Regions from separate parts of the Homo sapiens genome. Here region 2 is linked to region 1. The links are contacts of gene promoters, found by promoter capture Hi-C in blood cells and fetal thymus (Javierre and others, 2016). All regions are on one chromosome and are shown on one strand. The core of a region is centred on a gene start or on the middle of the fragment in contact, and the rest is flanking DNA. Distances in the headings are between cores, read along the strand shown.

Region 1 (5,051 bases), core at 1,072-3,571:
TTCTCATTTCTTTAGCTGTAACCGCAAAGTAGATGACACTTGGATGTGTGTCCCCAACCCCGATTCTTCTATTCAGAGTTCAGATATTTCCAACTGATCACTTCCAAAGGGTGCCCAGGCCCTTTTCCTTCTCCATCTCCCCATTCCATCACTCCTTTTAAAAATTTATTGCGGTTAAAAATACAAAACTTAAAATTTACCATTTCAACCACTTTTAAGCATATGGTTTGATGACAGTAAGTACATTCACACTGTTGTGCTCAATCATACCTTTTAAATATCTGTATAGCTGGGAGTAGAAGGACCATTTCTGGTTCAATTGTTTATTCCTGGGGCCTGCTTCTATCTCCATATCATTGGCCAAGCCTGGTGCTTAATGGTTAAGAGCATGGGCTCTGGTGAGTGTGATCTGAGTTTAAATCCCAGCTCTATAACTGTAGCTGAGTCTTTCAACCTCTCTGGTCTCATTTTCCTCATCTTAGTATTCTCTACAATCACTCTGCTGAAGCAATAACAGCTTTGTTTATTTGTGAGCAAACCCCTTTAAATAACTTGTCCTGCTGGGGCTTGTGCTGGAAATGAAGAAAAAAGGATGCATTTGAAGAAAAGGATGGGCTTAGCCAGAAAGTAGAAGTTTCTGATATATTGGAGTGGGATGTAGAATCTGGCACTGGCTTGGATTTATTAAACAATCAGCTCCACCTACACTTGTTATGAAAAAGATGGGAAAACAATCCATCAGTAAACGATTTTGGTGAGTGCTTCCATCTTTGGTCAGAGGAGTAATTGTTCATCAGTGACAGGTGAACCTCTGTGAAAATTGAAAGGGCAATTTAGTTGAAATGGAAGCATTTATTCAGGAAACAGGTGATCTGGGAAAATTTGATGTGCATTTTTTTTTTTTTTTTTGAGACAGAGTTTCACTCTTGTTGCCCAGGCTGGAGTGCAATGATGTGATCTCGGCTCACTGCAACCTCTGCCTCCCAGGTTCCAGTGATTCTCCTGCCTCGGCTTCCCAAGTAGCTGGGATTACAGGTGCCTGCCACCACGCCCGGCTAATTTTTTGTATTTTTAGTAGAGAAGGGGTTTCACCATGTTGGCCAGGCTGGTCTCGAACTCCTGACCTTAGGTGATCCACCCGCCTTGGCCTCCCAAAGTGCTGGGATTACAGGTGTGAGCCACCGCATCTGGCCTGATGTGTATATCTTTTAACATGCCTTTAAATCCTATGGCTCTAAAGAGGCCATATTAGTTATTTCAGTGTTTATTTCATTTGATGAAGAAACGTTTGCATATGAATGTTGGGAATTCTAGCAGGTCCTGCCTCAATGTGAAGAGGCATTTTTTTTTGCTTTTGGCATTGATCTCCTTTTGGACTGGGCCTGATCCACTTCTTACATCCAGTCCAGGACCTGTCACAAAAGACTCACATTAGTACCACATGGTATCCTGTTTTAGTAAAGAATAGGTGAAATATTTTAGTGAGTAGATCCTACTTTTCCTTTCAGATGCAATGAACAGAAGACCCTGAAAGGATTTCAATCCAGAATGTCACAGGATAATAAGAGCAGATGTCTGTGATGCCCTTTACAAAGCACCTTTACATACTGTCTCTCATTCGTCTCTAATGACACCTATGTGATCCTCCATTTTTTCAGATGAGGAAACTGAGGTTCAGAGTGATTAAGCGAGTTGCCTGAGATTTCACAGCTAACACATTGTGAAATCTAGTCTAGCACCCAGGACTAAAAACTCTCGGCTTCTTTTAAGGCCACATATCGCCTCACCAGAAGGGTGGCCTCTCTGGAGATATACCCTACCCTCGGCCGACTTGATATTGAGAACTTGGTCATCTTAAGCATGTGGGCCACTTGGGCAAGGCAGCCCTTCCCAAATTGTAAATGTCCCCACGTGGAGCTCAAGCGTCTGGCTTGAGCCAGAAGGTGCCCTGAACACTCGGTGGCCCCAGCCCCCACGTAACAGCACGTGCTCGGGTCCCACATTCGGTCAGACGCCCCTCTCCACTGGCATCTGCCCGGTGGAGGCGCCACTGCGCTCTGCCTCCGCCCCAGCAAGCGCGTGTCCACGCGGGCGCGCCACGCCAGCCGTGCGCCCCAGCGGCTCGCCGTGCGCCCGCGCCCCAGGTGCCCACTGGCTCGCGCGCCCTCCGTCTGCGCCTTGGAGACCCGCGGCGGCGATCGCTCGGAGCCGCCTTGGACCGCGGCCTCGGGTCCATCACACTCCAGGGGCGGAGCGAGGCACCGAGACGTCAGGGCGGAGAACTAGCGCCGGGCTAGCGCGCCCTCCCGGCGGCTGCCGGCGTCCCACGTCCTCGGCTGGCGCGGCCGGCGGCGGCGGCGACCGGGAGATGCAGTGAGCGGCGGCGCTGGGGCGCAGCCAGGCGGCCGGGAGGGCGGGGGCCAGAGGCTGAGCCCGGGCGAGCCCGCCGTGCGCACAGCTCTGCCCGCCGCCCCTGGAGCGGATCCCCAGCCGTCCCTGGGCGTTCTCCCGGGTTCTAGCAAAGCCCCCCGGGGTGCCCATCAGTTTCCTTGGGTGACTACAGCGTGTGTTTTTTCTTTCCTCTTTCCCCTGCCTGTGTGCCCTTCTCCAGGATGGCAGAGGCGGAATTGCACAAGGAAAGGCTGCAAGCCATAGCAGTAAGTCCACTTTCATTTTATTTTCTTGCTCTATTGTCTGGGGTGGAAGGGGGCCCCCGAGGGTTTCGGGGCAAGCGGCATGCCAGCACAGTAGCCGCAGGTCATATGTTCCAGGGGCTAAAACTCTGTCAGGGCTCAGCTAGGCTGCCTTTTCTTTTCTATGTCTATAGATGGAGACCCCCAAGGGCGCGCTTTGGACTGAGGATTTGAATGTGGAAGATTGGCTTAAAAAAAGATGCTTGCTGCTGGGCTTTGGGGAAGGACTAAACAGAGGCTTGGGGTGGGGGGACGACTCCAGGAATATTATGACCGAATGCTCAGGCATACGTTGGCTTCATAGCCTGGAGAACCAAGAGAAGGGTGACCTGAACGGTGGCTGCCATCCTCTCTGCGGAAGCTGTCCTCCTGTTAAGTGGAAAACCAGGAGTCAGCGACTCAGCCAGCCACGCGGTAGAACCTCCTCCCAGAAACCGGGAATGTTAGTTTTCCCTTCTCTGTTTGATATTGACAAGGGCACTGGCACAAGCCACCACCCTGGAGGTCTGGGGACTTCATACAACTGGGTCCTGGTTATAATATTCCATGAGAGCCTCCTTCTTATGGTGTGGAGTATCTGAAAACCTATTTTCAGCCTACAAAGGAGTAGTCAGTTTTGGCAAAGTTCGTAGGCACTTTCAGAAAAGTGTACCCATGTGCATCTTGGGTTTAAAAAAGAACTCTCTGAGACTGCCTAGATTTGAGCAATCTTAACACAGTGTTGCCAATGATCCACAGATGTGGTATTTTTACTGGAGCCACCACAGCTGGATTATATATTTCCTTCGAGGATGAGGGAATGATTACTGCTGCCGTATGAAATAGTAACAATTAAAAAAGAAGGTCCGTTAACATATTGGCATAAAAGAATCTCCAGACATTCTTCCACCTAAATACATTTGTGTTTTTCAGTTCGGAAGTTCTCTGGAAACACATATAAATTTGTTGGAGAAATAGTGTGTAATGTTTTGGAACCAAAGTATATTAAAGCGTTTTCCAAAACCTTTTTGGACAGATTCTTCATTGGGAAAATGCACACAGACCCTTCCTTTTTTAGAAGCATTTGACATGGTCTCCAAGGCTCTGAGACCCTCTTTCTCAAACGCCTCAAATCTGAAATGTCTTGGAGACTTCACCACTGAAGTGAGAGAGATGTTTGCTGGCAATATTGAAATGCCATGGTTTGCCTATTAGGTAATCTTTGAACGTGGTGCTCTGAACTCAGAAAGGTTGTTTTTTTCTTCTTTCTCTTTCCCCCTGTGCATGTGTATTTTGATGGTTTGTGAAGTTATTTGTGGTTTCTAAAGTTGGTGGCAAGGCAGCATGGCCAGTGTGTCATGAACTTGATAAGAATGGTGATATTGAGTTAATGGTGCCATGTAGCTGGTGGGTGTTTTGTGTGAACTGGATAATAGGCTGCTTTAACTGTTGATGCAGTGGCTGTTCCCATTGGCTGCTGCTGAAGGCTTCCAACAGTTGTCACATTTTCTGCCTTTGCACAACCAGCTTTACTGGATGCCTGAGGAACAGCTGAACTCCATGAAAGGACTTGCTTTCCAAACATGGAGCCAGTAGCTGCTAACACTGGGGTACCCTTTTCCAAGTGCGGTTGAGTAATCCCAGCAGAGGCCAAGTCGATTTTCCAAGAAAGATCTAGGCAAATCTTTGGGAATTCTCTTGAGCATATAAGAATACACACAAATACTCACTTGTGCCTCTTCAGTTATTGAAGAATTGAGTTTGTCCTGTGTATCTGGGGAGCTGTTGATTATTCTCATGAATGTGCACCTAATACAGTCTGCCCTCCCTATTCATGGGTTCCATATCCACGCCTTCAGTCAATCTTGGATTGAAACTATTGGAAAAAATAATAGATAGCTGAGTCTGTACTGAACATGTACAGACTTTTTCTTGTCACCATTCCCTAAATAATACAGTATAATCAACTGTTTACGTCGCATTTACAGTGTATTAGGTATTATAAATAATCTGAAAATGATTAATGTATGTGGGAGGATGTGAGTAGGTTATATGCAAATACCATGCTATTTTATAGGGACTTGAGCATCCTTTGATTTTGGTATCCAAGGGGGTCCTGAAACCAATTCTCTGAGGATACTGAGGGATGACTGTATGATGTTGTCAGGACAGATTTGCTAACAGCGTGTGTTTGTTTGTGTGTGTGTGTGTGTGTGTGTGTGTGTGTGTATGTGTGTGTGAGAGAGAGAGCCAATTAAGAGACAGAGGGAGTTGGGTGGGGGGACTTATGGCCACATCGGTAAATGGTTTTATGCTATGCTTTGGTCTAGTGCCTACTCTTCTGAATTCTGCAAACCCTGACTCTCTCATCACTTTCCT
Region 2 (5,051 bases), core at 1,823-4,322, 420 kb after region 1:
CTGTCGCCCAGGCTGGAGTGCAGTGGCAGGATCTTGACTCACCACAACCTCCGCCTCCCGGGTTCAACTGATTCTCCTCGACTCAGCCTCCTAAGTAGCTGGGATTACAGGCGTGAGCCACCAAGCCCGGCTAATTTTTGTATTTTCGGTAGGGATGGGGTTTCATCATGTTGGTCAGGCTGGTCTGGAACTCCTAACCTCGGGTGATCCACCTGCCTTGGCCCCCCAAAGTGCTGGGATTACAGGCGTGAGCCACTGCACCCAGCAGAACCTTTCTTTTAAAGATGGTAGTGTCGGCCAGGAGAGGTGGCTTATGCCTGTAATCCCAGCACTTTGGGAGGCCAAGGCAGGTGGATCACCTGAGGTCAGGAGTTCGAGACCAGCCTGACCAACATGGCGAAACCCCGTCTCCACTGAAAATATAAAAATTAGCTGGGCATGGTGGCATGCACCTGTAATCCCAGTCACTCGGGTGGCTGAGGCAGGAGAATCGCTTGAACCCAGGAGTCGGAGGTTGTAGTGAGCCGCGATAGTTCCATTGCACTCCAGCCTGGGGAACAAGAGCAAAACTCCGCCTCAAAAATAAACAAACAAATAAATAAATAAATAAAGTAGTGTCTGCAAGAAGGAGGACTGACACATTATCCCCCCACTAGATGATTGCTCAGCAGAAAGGGGAGACTTCAGTGGAAACAAGACAGTATAGAATGGCCAGAAAGAGAAGGTGCAGGGATGATCACCTCACATAGGTGCAGAAAATGCCTCCTGCCTATGTGTCTACAGGCCGAGCTGGGCTAGCAGAGGTAGATGAACTTGGGGCAAAGGGTAAAAAGAATGGGCTCCTGATGCAATGGGGTGGAGGCAGCTTGACCAGGCATAGCCATCTTCCCAAGAGACCCTCAAACACGCTAGCGGGATGCTTGGGATGAGTCCCTCCTCAGCAGGAGCCCACTGGGGCCACCACCTGTCCATACCAAGCCTATAGATGACAAGCCAGGCCAGCGTAAATGGCCAAGGCGAGAGACCAAAACTACACCATAGCCAGTCACATAAAGAGCTATCTGTGCTTCCTCTCCATCCTTCCTACCCCGTTGTCAAAAATCTGTGTAAACACAGACAGAAGGGTGCGGGAATGAGCCTCTCCCTCCAGCCTTAAAGGCATCAATCAAGGCTGTGCTGGGAGGAGGTGGAGCCTGGTAGACTCTGACTTGACTATGAGATGAACTTTAACATTTGAACAGTTCCAAGCTTTAACAACTGAAATGAATGGCTTTAATGTCAGGAAGTGACTGAAAAGTTAGGGAATCTGACTGAGATAGTGTGAGGGCAGCCTGTCCCCTAGTGGGGAAGAGGCTGTTCGATCCAGCTGAATTGGTTCTTGGAAAAGAACTTTTCTGTTCCTAGCTTAGGGAAAACGTCTCTCCTCTGCGTCCCTCACCACCCCAGGGAAGATTATCGCCTTCAGTTAAACTGGGAAATCTGTGGCTCTGAGATTTGGCTCTGAAATCTCTGGCTTTAATTCACCCAACAAAGGTCACACCTCTACCAATGGCAGTGCCCAGACTAGAGCCTGATCCGTCCTCCTCTGCCAGGGGAGACTGAGGCATGGTGTGTGCCAGGCAGCCACATGGGGAGTCCACACTGGGAAGTGGAAGCCTGGGGAACCCTAGGTAAAGGTGGCCTGCCTGATGCAGGATTTACAATGTGAGCTGGTTTTTCTCTATCTTAGGAAGAGAAGAGGAAAACTTTCTGCTAATGTTATCGGTGGAGGCCATCCAGGCTCTTGGCATTTTGAACAAAGACTTGGCCAACCAGCTGGCCGTGTGGCCTAATGGATAAGGCGTCTGACTTCGGATCAAAAGATTGCAGGTTTGAGTTCTGCCACGGTCGTGGAGGGGTTATATTTTGTTGGGTGCGGTGGCTTATGCCTGTAATCCCAGCATCTTGGGAGGCCGAGGAAAGCGGATCACCTGAGGTCGGGAGTTTGAGGCCAGCCTGGCCAACATGGAGAAACCCCATCTCTACTAAAAATACAAAATTAGCCGGGCGTGGTGGCGCATGCCTGTAATCCCAGCTACTCGGTAGGCTCAGGCAGGAGAATCACTTGAACCTGGGAGGCAGAGGTTGCGGTGAGCTGAGATCACACTGTTACACTCCAGCCTGGGCAACAAGAGCAAAACTCTGTCTCAAAAAAAAAAAAAAAAAAAAAAAAAGGGCCGGGTGTGGTGGCTCACACCTGTAATCCCAGCACTTTGGGAGGCCAAGGCAGGCAACATGGTGAAACCCTGTCTCTACAAAAAAACCACAAAAATTAGCCAGGCATGATGGTGCACACCTGTAACCCCAGCTACCGGGGAGGCTGAGGTGGGAGAATCGCTTAAAGCTGGGTGGTGGAGGTTGCAGTGAGCTGAGATTGTGCCACTGTACTCCAGCCTGAGAGGCAGAGCAAGACTCCATCTCAAAAAAAAAAAAAAAAAAAGATGTAATTATTGGCTGGGTGTGGTGGCTCACACCTGTAATCCCAGCACTTTGGGAGGCCAAGGCAGGCAGATCACCCGAGGTCAGGAGTCCGAGACCAGCCTGGCCAACATGGTGAAACCCCGTTTCTACTAAAAATACAAAAAATTAACTGGGGTAGTGGTACACGCCCATAATCCCAGCTACTTGGGAGGCTGAGGCAAGAGAATGGCTTGAACCTGGGAGGCAGAGGTTGCAGTGAGCCGGGATTGCACCACTGCACTCCAGCCTGGGTAACAGAGCAAGACTCCATCTCCAAAAACAGGAAACAAAAGCAAACCTATAGAAAGATACGTTACTTGTGGGACACTTCTTTAAAAACAAAAGCAAAGGACAAATTTTTTTGAGAAAATTTCCTTTTTTATTAGAATATTTAAAAAACAACTGAATTGTATTAATTATTCACAAAAGGAATGACAATCCCCAAATTTGAGTGGATTTCTGGGTGGTTCAAGGAAGCTTCTACATGTTTTTCACAGGTAATGACACTACTAGTTAACAGCTCTGGATGTAGATGGGCAAGACTGGACGGCCATGCAGAGAAAAGAAAGGTGGGAGTGAAACTTTACAGAGAAAGCACCTGAGATGAGGGAAAGGCACCTTAGGTGTGTTTAAATAGCATTACAAAAGCTAAACATTAACCAGGAAATACAAGCTTTTTTCCCTATCACCCAAGTGACACCTGCTTCGCTTTGTCTTAGGTTTAAAAATATATTTGATCCCAGGAAGGATCTGAGTGATCTAAGTTGGACTAAACAGGAGGCAGTCTATAGGGAATGTGTATTTTTCAAGTAGGAGCATTTCTTTGCCTCTTTTGTTCAGGATCTCATCATTATATATCGTCAATGATTGGCAGTTTTTAATAAGAACTTAATTTGCAGAGAGAGAGAGAGAGAAAAGATAGGCAGGAAGGCAGGAAAGAAGGCAAGAAGGAAGAGAGGAAAGAAAGAAGGAAAGAAGGGAGGAAGGGAGGGAGGGAGGGAGAGACAGAAGGAAGGAAGGAAGGAAGGAAGGAAGGAAGGAAGGAGATAACTCTGTGATGATGCTGGAATGTACATGTCTCAGTGAGCAGTGACAGATGATTAGCCCTTTCTAAAGACCCCTTAAAGACACAAAATGGTAGGTAGCATTGATCTCACCTTCATACCCTGGGTGACCATACTTTGGGAAGCCCAAATTGAAATGATGTGATCACTGCCAATGAGTGTTGTGACTTCTAAGTGAGATGGCCCCCCAGACATAGCCACCAGAAAAAGCATCTGAATTCTCAGAGCTTGTCTTCTCCAGAATATATGAGAAATCATCAGAAGACATTGAAAACAAGAATGCCACGCCCATTGACCCCTGGGCATTGCTAAGGCATTCTGTTGGCTAGGTCCCTGGTTTATGTTCCAAAATTATCCAGTTCCAGGGATGGAGCAGATGTCTTACTGGTCCTCCCCAAGGAATGGATATCCAGGACCTCATAGTAATGTCAGAATGGGGCTGCACTGACCAGACAGTCCTCTTCATCCTAAACTGTGGGCAATTTGGCCTGGGAAGTCTCTTCTTATTGGAAGGGTAAAACCATGTTACCATTGTGAAGTTCGTCTCCCACAATTCCTATAATTAGGTTAGTCCAGTTCTTGCTCATAGCTAGAGACCTCGTTGTGGCTCTGCCTCCTTGGTTCTTCTATAAGGCCATAGGTGGCCTCAAGGTCAAGACATCTGGCAGAATAGAAAGCTTCACGCTGAGCCATATAAGCCCAGGTTCCGGGCAGCTTGGGAGATCCTGGGTGTTTTCCTCTGGGGAAATGGATAGTAAGCTGGTTTGCCAGACCTGTGTGGGTTCTTTATGGAAAGAGGACATTGAGTGCTGAATTTTAAGCCAGATTCCACTGCCTTTGTTTGGGTATTGCCCACCTGGCATGGAAGCTGGGCAGCCTCTGGGATTCCGGTTCCTTGCTGAGTCATCTGATTGGTTTCAAACAAGTGTGTGTCTCCTTCAGGAGGGAGCCTTTGATCAGATCCCACAAGCTTGCCCCTATGATGTACTTGATGACTGGTGTCCTGGGGGGAGGTTTGGACCAAACAATGCATCTCCAGGTGCGTGTGCCATGGAGACTTGGGGGCCTGAAGGCAGCCCTGGGCAGCCTCCTCCAGCCTCCCCTCCACCTCAGAATCTGCCTCTTCCAGGGACAGTGAGCTTCTTCTCTCCTTGTTAATCCAAACAGCATTGACCATCGATTCTGCAGGAGCAGGTGTGTTTCCTCCTGAAAAGAGAATGCACCAGCAGGGTCATCACTGGAAGGGACAGGGGCGGCTCTCACTTAGGGGGTCTCATTGCTTTCAAGCTGAAGGAAGGCCATCCCCAGAAGGTTCCTGGTACATTTCATGTGTGTACATGTGTACACACACAAGATCTCACTTGCATGCTCACACACATGCCCTTTTACACCTCACCCATATATACTCACACACACACAATTATTCATTCATTCAACACATATTTATTGAGCACTTAATATGTGCCAGGCATTATTTATTCTAGGTCC

What was found. The method cuts DNA at HindIII sites, captures the fragments that hold promoters and counts their contacts. A CHiCAGO score of 5 or more calls a contact.
Region 2: a contact is called between a fragment that was not itself captured here and the fragment with the promoter of PALM2AKAP2 in region 1, in 1 of 17 cell types (total B cells). The highest score is 5.4, in total B cells.

The regions. Positions count from the first base shown.
Region 1 is chr9:109,777,877-109,782,927 of GRCh38, forward strand. PALM2AKAP2 (PALM2 and AKAP2 fusion) reads left to right here and starts at 2,322. Exons shown (of 11, transcript NM_007203.5): 1 at 2,322-2,657. The coding sequence starts at 2,613. The HindIII fragment of the contact is 7,761 bases long and covers 1-5,051 here.
Region 2 is chr9:110,196,706-110,201,756 of GRCh38, forward strand. C9orf152 (chromosome 9 open reading frame 152) reads right to left here. Exons shown (of 2, transcript NM_001012993.3): 2 at 2,856-4,769. The coding sequence ends at 4,243. Among named protein-coding and RNA genes, the nearest start is that of C9orf152, 8.9 kb to the right of the region's middle. The HindIII fragment of the contact is 196 bases long and covers 2,975-3,170 here.